3 separate regions of the Homo sapiens genome follow, and regions 1 and 3 are each linked to region 2. The links are contacts of gene promoters, found by promoter capture Hi-C in human tissues and cell types (Jung and others, 2019). All regions are on one chromosome and are shown on one strand. Each heading gives the region's core, a stretch centred on a gene start or on the middle of the fragment in contact. The rest is flanking DNA. Distances are from core to core; before and after follow the strand shown. Region 1 has its middle 8.0 kb from the start of STK25. Region 2 holds the start of RNPEPL1 (arginyl aminopeptidase like 1). Region 3 overlaps SNED1 (sushi, nidogen and EGF like domains 1).

The links. Contacts are between HindIII fragments. The study calls those that stand out against the background at their distance.
Region 1: a contact is called between a fragment that was not itself captured here and the fragment with the promoter of RNPEPL1 in region 2, in 1 of the 25 tissues and cell types used here (dorsolateral prefrontal cortex).
Region 3: a contact is called between a fragment that was not itself captured here and the fragment with the promoter of RNPEPL1 in region 2, in 1 of the 25 tissues and cell types used here (dorsolateral prefrontal cortex).

What each region holds. Positions count from the first base shown.
Region 1 is chr2:241,514,845-241,518,297 of GRCh38, forward strand. No RefSeq gene overlaps it. Among named protein-coding and RNA genes, the nearest start is that of STK25, 8.0 kb to the left of the region's middle. The HindIII fragment of the contact is 7,266 bases long and covers 1-3,453 here.
Region 2 is chr2:240,566,596-240,570,399 of GRCh38, forward strand. RNPEPL1 (arginyl aminopeptidase like 1) reads left to right here and starts at 1,889. Exons shown (of 11, transcript NM_018226.6): 1 at 1,889-2,519. The coding sequence starts at 1,992. RefSeq lists silencers at 1-95, 1,606-1,865, 1,896-1,955, 2,096-2,285, 2,526-2,575 and enhancers at 2,336-2,974, 2,846-3,025, 2,975-3,613. The HindIII fragment of the contact is 6,553 bases long and covers 1-3,804 here.
Region 3 is chr2:241,086,226-241,089,592 of GRCh38, forward strand. SNED1 (sushi, nidogen and EGF like domains 1) reads left to right here. Exons shown (of 32, transcript NM_001080437.3): 30 at 1,167-1,250; 31 at 2,140-2,177. The coding sequence ends at 2,176. It also overlaps a transcript of MTERF4 not described here. Among named protein-coding and RNA genes, the nearest start is that of MTERF4, 14 kb to the right of the region's middle. The HindIII fragment of the contact is 4,184 bases long and covers 26-3,367 here.

The DNA.
Region 1 (3,453 bases), core at 122-2,621, 950 kb after region 2:
TGCCTTCTCACTGTGTCCTCACATGGCAGACAGAGAGCTCTCTGGTGTCTCTTTTCATGAGGGCCCGATCCTGTTGGATCAGGGATCCACCCTTATGAACTCATTTAACTTGCATTAACTCCTTGTAAGCTTTATCTCCAAATACATTGACGGTTAGGGCTTCAGCATATGAACTTTGGAGTAGAAGAGACACAAATGAGTCTGCAGCAGGAGATTCCAAAGGCTAGCATTCTGGAAGGAAAAGGTGCCAGTGCATGGCTTCGTAATGACCTGGCACAGTGCATGGCTTCGTAATGACCTGGCAGCTGGTTAGCACCACTTCCACCATCGTCATGGCTCACCCAGATTTAAGGGGGGAAAGCATGTAACTCACATTGTGAGACAAACATAGAGGAGGGAGGTAATGTTGAGGCCATCTTTGGAAAACACAAAGATGAGGGAATTATAGCTGTCACAGGCTCAGCAGTAATGTCTTAGGCTTAATAATGTAATTCCCATATGTTGATTTTTAACATTTATAATTATTCTCTATAGAACGTGAAGGTTTTCCACTTTAACCATGTAGAAGTAGAAGTAAGGAAGAAGATAGAAAAATGGCATCTAGAAGTAGGAGAAGAGAAAGGGAAACTGCACTTCAGTCTTAGTTCAGAAAATGTCAGAATCACTTTTAGTTTCAAGCCACCGAGAGCAAAGACAACAATATGAACTGCTGCCTGGCCACAAAAGCTAAGGTTTTTTTGGTGTGAGAAGAAAGCATAGGACACTTCGGTGGGTAAAGAATGTTTTAAAACTCCAAGTCTACGGGACGTTTACATATGTACCATATAATAATTAAGAGTGAGTACAGCAGGGCAAGGTGGCTCATGCCTGTAATTCCAACACTGGGAGGCCGAGGCGGGCGGATCATTTGAGGTCAGGAGTTTGAAACCAGCCTGACCAACATAGTGAAACCCCATCTCTACTAAAAATACAAAAAATTAGCTGGGTATGGTGGCACACGTCTGTGATGTGAGCTACTCAGGAGGCTGAGGCACAAGAATCACTTGAACCCAGGAGGCGGAGGTTGCAGTGAGCTGAGATTGTGTCATTGCACTCCAAACTGGGTGACAGAGCTAGACTACGTCTCGGGAAAAAAAAAAAAAATTAACTGGGCCTGGTGGCGGGCGCCTGTAGTCCCAGCTACTCCGGAAGCTGAAGCGGGAGAATCTTTTGAACCTGGGAGGTGGAGGTTGCAGTGAGCTGAGACTGTGCCACTGCACTCCAGCCTGGGTGACAGAGTGAGACTCCATCTCAAACAACAAACAAAAAAAGATACGTAGATTAATGAAATCAAATTCATTACCAGAAATAGACTTATGATCAATTGATTTTTTAAAAGTATGCCAAGACAATTCAGTTGGGAAATAATTACTTTATTTTAATTGTTTTGTTTTAGCTCTGTTCCAGCCAGTGAACAAAGGGGAAGAGTAATTTTTTCAACAAATGGTGCTGGGATCTTGCAGATACCTGAACATGTGCAAGCTGCTGGAGGGCAGCATGCCCAGGGAGGGCAGATAAGCTCTGTGCTCACACCCCCACAACACACACACAAACACACCCAACACACACACACACCCAACACACACACCCCCAGCACACACACCCCCAACACACGCACACCCCCAACACACGCACACAACACACACACACCCAACACACACCCCCAACACACACCCAACACACACACCCCAACACACACCCAACACACACACCCCAACACACACACATACCCAACACACACACTGAACACACACACAACACATACCCAACACACACACAACTCCAACACACACATACACATACCCAACACGCAACACACATGCACACCCCCAATACACACTCAACACACCCAACACAACACACCCAATACACACAACACACACCCAACACACACACACGCCCAACACATATACCCAACACACATCCCAACACATACACAACATACACACACACCCAACACAAACACACCCCCAACACACACACACCCCCAACAAACACACCCAACACACACCCCGAACACACACCCAACACACACACCCCAAACACACCCCCAACACACACACAAACACACCCAACACACACACACCCAACACACACCCCCAACACACACACCCCACCACACAACGTGCACACCCAACACACACACCCAACACACACCCCCAACACACACACACCCAACACACACACACCCAACACACACCCCCAACACACACACCCCAACACACACACACACCCAACACACATACACATACCCAACACGCAACACACACATGCACACCCCCAATACACACTCAACACACCCAACACAACACACCCAATACACAAAACACACACCCAACACACACAACACCAACACACACACCCCAACACACACATATACCCAACACACACACCTGACATATACACACACCCAACACACACACAAACATACACAACACACACATATACACCCCCAATACACACAACACACGCCCAACACACAAATACACAGCCCCAATACACACATGCCCAACACACACATATACCCAACACACATCCCAATACATACATAATGTACATACGCAACACCCAACACACACCCCAACACATACAACATACACATACCCAACACACACGAAACACACACAAAACACACACACACCAACACACAACACGTAGATACCTCAACACACACAATACACATACCCAACACACAACACGTAGACACCTCAACACACACACAACACACATACCCAACACACACACTAATACACTAATACACACAACACCCCACACCAACACACAAACATACACAACACATACACGTACACACACCCCAACACACAAACCCCAACACACACATCCAACACACACACACACAACTGGATATCCACATGCAAAAGAATGAAGTTAGACCCAATCAACTAAAAACGGATCATGAATTTGAATGTAAGCGCTAAAACTATAAAATAGCTTATTAGATATGACAAATGCACAAGAGACAAAATTTAAAAATAGATTAATTCAAATTCACCAAATTGAAAACTTGTATGCTTCAAAGGACACCATCAAGAAAGTGAAAAGGCAACCTACCAAATGGGAGAAAGTATCTGCAAATCATCTGTCTGATAAGGGACTTGTATCCAAGATATATATTTTAAAAAGTTCTTACAATGCAATAATAAAAATATAAATAACCCAATTTAAAAATGGGCAGGGCTAGGCATGGTGGCTCACACCTCTAACCCCAGCACTTTGGGAAGCTGAGGTGGAAGGATGGCTTGAGCCCGGAAGTGTGAGACCAGCCTGGGCAGCAGAGCAAGATCTCATCTCTACAAATAATTAAGAAAATTAGCCAGGCGTGGTTGTACATGCCTGTGGTCCCAGTTACTCAGGAGGCTGAGGTTAGAGGATCACTTGAGCTTGGAAGGTAGA
Region 2 (3,804 bases), core at 639-3,138:
GCTCCCGCGGCTCAGTTGCAGACCCCGCCCCCTCGGCTCAGCCGCGCCTCCCGCTCCATGGGGTGCAGTAGGGCAGCTCCTCACATACGTGCGCGGTGGGAGGCGCTCCCTTGGGCCCCCGGGGAGGAGGTGCCACAGCAACTCTGGACTCCTGTGTGCAGAACTGGCCGCGGAGAGGTGCCCAGGGCGAGACCCCAACCTCTGCTCCCTGAGCCCAATGCGGGGCTCTGGGTGGCAAGACCCCAAGCTCCCTGTGGTGACTTGCCCCCCGGACGGCCAGGCCCAGCTAGTGTGGCACCGCGTGTGCAGAACTGAGGTTCTTCCAGCCAGGAACATGGCCCGGTGGGCTCTGGAGAGCCCCGTAGAACTGGGGGTGCCATCGAAAACAGTCTGCCCTTGGCACTGCAGGGCCCCACCGGGCAGGGCGCTGGGGGCAGTGAGGAGGGTCCCATCTCAGCTGTCTTCCCTGTCAGCCTTGGATGCGAGGCTGATCCACACCTCTGAGTGACTGTGTAAGCCTAGGGGTTCCTGGTGAGTTTGGGATGGGTGCCCCAAGATCGTGGCCGTGTCCCTAAAGAGGGCACGTGGGGACCTGAGGTCCTACGGGAAAACTGAAATGATGCCTCAGTGCTCTGTCCCGCAAACGTGAACGCACACTCTCCCTCTCAGCCTTCCTTCCCGCCCCACGGAAGGAGGGTAGACACAGAGGGTTACACAACGAGGAGACTGAGTCCAGACACAGGAAACACTACTCAGGGCTGACGCTGAGTCGAGTGCGGTACCCGAGTCCAGCCCTGCACGGCCACACCTCAATGGAGCAGAAGAGAGAGGTGTCCTGGGTTCCTGGATAGTTCCCCAGCCCCAGAAGCCCCTTGTCCCTAGGAATTTGAATTCTTACTTGATGACAACAGCGACATCATGGTGGCCCCTGTTATTCCACAGCCTCAAAATTTAACCGCTGTGAGCTCACTAGCAGCTTCTGCCAGGCGAGCACCCCTTCCCTCGGGGCTCAGGCTCCTGGACAGGCTCAGCCTTGGGCAGCCTTCGCCAGGTCCACAGAGAATGGCGTTGGGAAGGGTGGACCTGGCGGATGGGGTGGGGACAGGCGGGCCAGACCCTCCTTCGTACCCCAGCACAGGGCTCCCAAATGAGAGGTCCCCAGCACTGCCCAGAGGAACTTCTGCGATTGTGGAAATGATTCCTGCCTGCTTTGTCCATTAGCCACTCCTCCCAGGAAGACACACACACTCACTCACTCCACCTGCCACGAAGGAACTGAACTTCTAACTGTATTTAATTCGCATCTAAATGGCCACACGTGGTTGGTGGCTGCTGTAGTTGACAGCGCTGCGTGAAGGCTCCGGCGCTTCTCGCACCGCAGGGCCCACAGCACAGACCACACCTGTAGACTTGGAGGAGTGGCAGGGGTGCCAGGAGAATCCTGCCCTGCCCGTAGCCCCGGATGAAAGGATGACATTGAGTTCGCGACGCTGCGCTCCTCGGGAACACGAACCACACCTGGAAGCAGCCTGCCCCTGTGGCCCCAAGGTTCCCGGGTCCCTTCAGCGGCTGCCCCAGGGGCCTGGCCGGCAGTGTCTGGGAGGGAGCAGCGATCCCGCCTCCTGGGATCTCCCGGGCGCCGCCCGGGGAGGAAGCGAGGGGCTGGGGGTGCTGCTCACCCGCTCCGCGCGCCTCGGCTCCCAACACAGCGCCCCGGCCCCGCGCCGCGCTCGATTCCCCGGCTCCCCGCGCCCCTGGCTCCTGGCCCTCCCCGCCCGGCGCCCCGGCCCCGCGCCCCGGCCCCGCGCACAGCGCCCCCGGCGGCGGCCGAGCGGAGCCCGAGCGGGGCGGCGCACGGCGCGGGGCCGGGCCGGGCGGCTCCCGGCGCGACTTCCTGTTGTGCCCGCGCCCCGCCGCCGCCGCCGCCCGGCGCCCCTCGCCCGCGGCCCGGCGCGGCCGCCGCCCATGGATTTCACCTAGTGCCGGCGGCCATGGCCGCGCAGTGCTGCTGCCGCCAGGCGCCCGGCGCCGAGGCCGCGCCCGTCCGCCCGCCGCCCGAGCCGCCGCCCGCCCTGGACGTGGCCTCGGCCTCCAGCGCGCAGCTCTTCCGCCTCCGCCACCTGCAGCTGGGCCTGGAGCTGCGGCCCGAGGCGCGCGAGTTGGCCGGCTGCCTGGTGCTCGAGCTGTGCGCGCTGCGGCCCGCGCCCCGCGCGCTCGTGCTCGACGCGCACCCGGCTCTGCGCCTGCACTCAGCCGCCTTCCGTCGCGCCCCCGCCGCCGCCGCCGAGACGCCCTGCGCCTTCGCCTTCTCCGCCCCCGGGCCGGGGCCCGCGCCGCCGCCCCCGCTGCCCGCCTTCCCCGAGGCGCCCGGCTCCGAGCCCGCCTGCTGTCCGCTGGCCTTCAGGGTGGACCCGTTCACCGACTACGGCTCCTCGCTCACCGTCACGCTGCCGCCCGAGCTGCAGGCGCACCAGCCCTTCCAGGTCATCCTGCGGTACACCTCGACCGACGCCCCCGCCGTGAGTCCGGGGCGGGCGCCGGGGCTGCGGGCCGGTCCGCAGGGCGCTGCTAGCGGCCTCTCGCCGCACGGCCAGGCTGAGGGACGCGAATCTGCGCCCTACAGGTGCCCCCCTCCCCCCACCCCGGTGATTCCCAGCTGTTGCCTGTGAGCCCTTAGGACCCTCGGATAGAAGCCGGAGTCCTGCGGGGACACGGGACAGCATGTCACTCCGGGAAGCCTCCCGTTCAGGTGTCTGGTCCCTGCCTGGGGACATGAGCAGCTTCTGTCACCCACCGAGGTGTACATCTGCAGGATCCTGGCACCAAGGGTTGGGCTGGAGTGTCAGCTGCGGAAGGGCCTCCATGTGACCAGTGCGTGCAGATGAGTCCAAGCCAGAGGCAGAGGAAAGGGCCATGGAGATTGTGATGCTCGGTTTGGGGCTTCCTTGGCCAGCACTGGTGGAGTGTTGAGACCAGTGGGCCCCGCGACCCCAACATAGACACACATAGGCTCTGCAGGGCTTGCACACTGGGTACCCACCACTCCAGAGACTCTGCAAGAAAGGCCAGGTGGCTGAGGCTGGCGCTGTGGCTGCAGCACCCCCTCCACCTCCACCAGTGGGGATGTGTACAGGATGGAGCAGGGCCTTTCCTGCCTACAGCATGGGGGTTCATACTGCATCCCTAGGTGGTATGGACGGCACACATGTGACACCCGACATATGCAAGACACACACAGCTGTGGAGGCGCTGGGAAGTCCAGCTGTCACTGGTCACGGCACATAAATGGACAGGGTGGTGGAGAGGTGGTCGAGAGGCTTCAGGCCACAAAGAGCCAAGGTGACATCTGGGCAGGAAGAACCCAGACCAGTGCACCCCTATGGGCTTCCTGTACATTTCCCAGGAGCCCTAAGCAGGACCTGCCACCTCACCTTTTTCCCAGAACCCCTGTGGGTGTGCAGGCCGCTGGCTAGCCGGCCCCGCCCCTGCTGTGGTATTCCAGGGCTCTGACCGGTGGCAAGTATGCCTCCCAGTATGACAGGTGAGAACTGAGGGATGGGCTTCTCCTTGGCCTTGATCCGTGTTTGGAGCCCACGTGTCTGGTCCGCCCAACACTGGCCTGCAGAGTGGCCGGACCAGGGCCCTCAGCAGGCTGCTGTGAACGGGGCCCAGTGAGCAAGGGTGGCCATTGTCTCTTGGCTTCCTATGGCCTACTGGGTGGCCCTTGGGTACTCTGGGCAGGGAGAGTGGCATAGTCCCCCAAGTCTGCGTGGTGTCAGGGTTGGCAGGCTGTGGACAGGGGGC
Region 3 (3,367 bases), core at 868-3,367, 520 kb after region 2:
ATCGTTCAACTCCTCAGTAGTTCTTCTTTGCCTTGTGGGGATTCACCCTATGCATGCACAGCTTTATTTCCAACCACAGGCCCAAGGGGACCCTACACAGATTCTGGAGTTCCTCCTCTGCATAGTTCCCTCCTCTTCAGTACTGCCCCACAAATTCCAGCTGCCTCTGTCTCCCCAACTTCAATCTCTGTTTCCTCAACTCAGTGTGACCACTGCTTGGATCCCCTTTCTCTGTGATGCCATCCAAAAACTTCTCTAGGCTGAATTCCAGGCTGACCACAGGACTCATCTCATCTGTTTCTCCTCTCTCAGGGATTACAGTCTCGTGTTGTCTGTTTTCTAACATCTGACATACAGTTACTTACTATATTTTGTCCAGTTCTCTGGTTGTTCACATTGGGAGGTTAATTCCAGATTCTGTTACTCTTTCATGTCCAGAAATGGAAGTCTTACCACAGGTTTTCGATCCTAAAGGTTCTATGAGACTTAGCATATGAGTTGGAGCTTTGCCTGCTGAACTCCTTGGATTTCCCTTTTAAACAGCTCTGACATTTGAGAACTTTAACAAAAGACAAAACGCCTTCCCATCCATTATTATCTACAAACTTGTAAGAGAGATGGTATGAGTAGGTCCCATTTTTACCTGCAACCGAGGCTTAAAACTTGAAGAGACTTGCTCAAAGTAGCCTGGTTAATAAATGGAAGAGGCAGGAGATGAAATCGGGTCTCCTGTTCTACAATGCCTACATCCGAATCCCGAATCCCCAACACTCCTCAAACTTCTCTGTGAAATACCCAGAAAAACAGAAAAGCGAGGCCATACCTTCCCCAGGCCTCCGGCCAGGTGGCTGCCTCTAGCACTGACATGTCTTTGACATTTCACATTTTATTTTTAGTACCATATCCTTTGTCAGTGCTCATCAGAATGCACATTAAAATGGGTTTATTTTATGCATATTACTGTACCACAATAAATTTATTACAAATCACATGACCTTTATGTTAGACATTTTAATACATCAATAGGAGGTCACGTTTCATTCAGAAAATAGCAGTTTTTCCCTCAAACACCTTCAGGTTTACTGTGGGTTCACATAGCCTAGGTTAAGCAGTTGGCAACATTTTGCTTCACTGTCTGGTTTTACAAAGCTTTCTTGTGACAACAGGTATAAAAGAGTCTACCGAGTTCACCAAGACATCTGCTTCAAAGAGAGCTGTGAAAGCACAAGCCTCAAGAAGACCCCAAACAGGTGCCTCTGGGGAGCAGGCCCATGCCGTGTCCTGCATGTAGCCCACAGGGTGATGGGGCAAGGGCGGGGTGCTATGGGATGCTGCAGGCCTGTGGGCTGAGCCAGGCGGTCTACTCGCCCAGATAGGCAGCCCCTGGGCAGCCACGTTCTGCTACGAAACTGTATGTCCATATATGTGCATGTGAGCATACCCAGAGGGGCACAGCCGGGCATGCTGGGTGCTGGGGGGGGTCACTCTGGTTATGCATATTCACACAGAACATGGTGCTACAATTGGGAAGCACAGGGTGTTACGGACAGCCCCGAGTATTTAATGGCCGATATAGCGCGTCGCTCTTTACTTTTTATTCACTCACACCCAGGTTCTTTCCACAAAGGGTTCAAGGTAGTTACAAGAATTACTACTGTTTGGCGTTTGCTGAAAGAAGTACGTGAGAATATTATATGCTTTAGAAACCACAGAGTCGAAGCCTGTCATCGTCCTCATAGACCAATGAGTAGCCACACGTACTTGTTTGGCATTACCAAGTGTCCGGGCAAGGCCGCAGCCTGCAGCTCACCAGCCGTGCTGCTCGGCCTGTGCACGTCACCGGCTCTTCCCTAGGGTAGCTTTTGCTTGCTTTCTCCCACGTCCATCCTCTCTCTCTCTGACTCACAGCCAGCCAGGTTTCTAGCCTTGTCATTCCTAAACTACTGCCTCAAGCCAGGCGGGCGCACACAAACTAAAATGCTAATCTCCACAGCGGTGTCTGGACTAATGGTGTCCCCCACCGTGGAATGTATGTGAGCTAAAGACAGGATCTCAGCAGGCAGCCTGGACTGAGGTAGCTGTAGAATTCAAGGTACACAGTCTCTTTTTCATTAAACGACTTTTCTCTAATTATTTCAGGAAACAAAGTAAGAGTCAGACACTGGAGAAATCTTAAGGTACGTCCCTGCTGCTCCCGCCCCACTACCACAGAGCTGCTGGGAAGTGGGGGGCGACTGCCCAGCCCCGGGATCTCAGAGTGCCGCTGCCTGCTTACTCAGCACTGCTAAAGGAAGCGCGGTCCTGTGCTGCTGTGTTACAGACTCCCGGGCAGGAAGGTTCAGAAGTCCCCAAGGGGAAACAGACATGAACCTGGTCTAGCCACTGACAAATACACCTTCAGGTGGAAATGAGGCTCTCTGTGGATAGGGCAAATCCCACTCTCTCTCAAGGGAAATGTGGCCAAGAAACCCCTAGATCAGCTGCAGTGGGAGGAAGAGGCAGGGGGGTGGGCCCTTGGAGAGGCTGGAAGACCACCTGGCACCTGGGAGGAGGGGCCACGGGCAGCGGGAGGGCCTGGGCTGCTGAGAAATTCCGGGGGCTCCAGGAGAGGGCTGAGAGAGTGCCTCCCAGATCTTGTGAACGGCATTCTGTTGGAACTAAAAGTGGGGCAGGGGCCTTGATCGCTTAATATTTAGAAAGTGTTGAAGACCGCCGCTAGAAAGTCGTCACTGACACTGGGCTCATAGGCATTCATAAATCCTGACGTGAAAGGAACTTCCTCTCGCCTTTGTTTAAGCCAGCATTTCCCAAACTCTTTTGGCAACCAAACCCCATCCTGCCCCCACCTCCCCACACAAACTGCCGAATCTTAAACAACACTGGCATTCTTCACAATCGTTTGCAAGAGACTGGGATATACCATAGAAAGCCATCTACAACCTGTTACCAGTTTCATACTGACCATCATTTTTTATCAACATGTCACTGCATGAAAGATGAATCTCTGGTTGGCCTAGGACAGCTTTGCTCTTCCTGCCCCTTATAGGAGCCCTCACAGTTCATCTTCCTGGTGGCGCAGATGAGTGAGGCACCCTTGGGTAACAAGCCACTTCAAAACAGGTCTATGTTTTGTTACGTGCCTAAAAAAATAAAGGAGAAATGTCATTCAGGAACCTTTAAAAACAAACAGAAGCAAAACAGCTTTTCAGATATAGGCTCACACACACCAAAGGAAGAGTGTCCACACCCCCTTGGGGGAAAGGTCTGGGCCGGAGCTCCGCACATGGCAGGAACTTGAGCTCTGAGTTGGCCATGACAGAGTGCATGCATCTGCCTCTTCGGATGTGGAAAGTCTCTCCATAAGAGA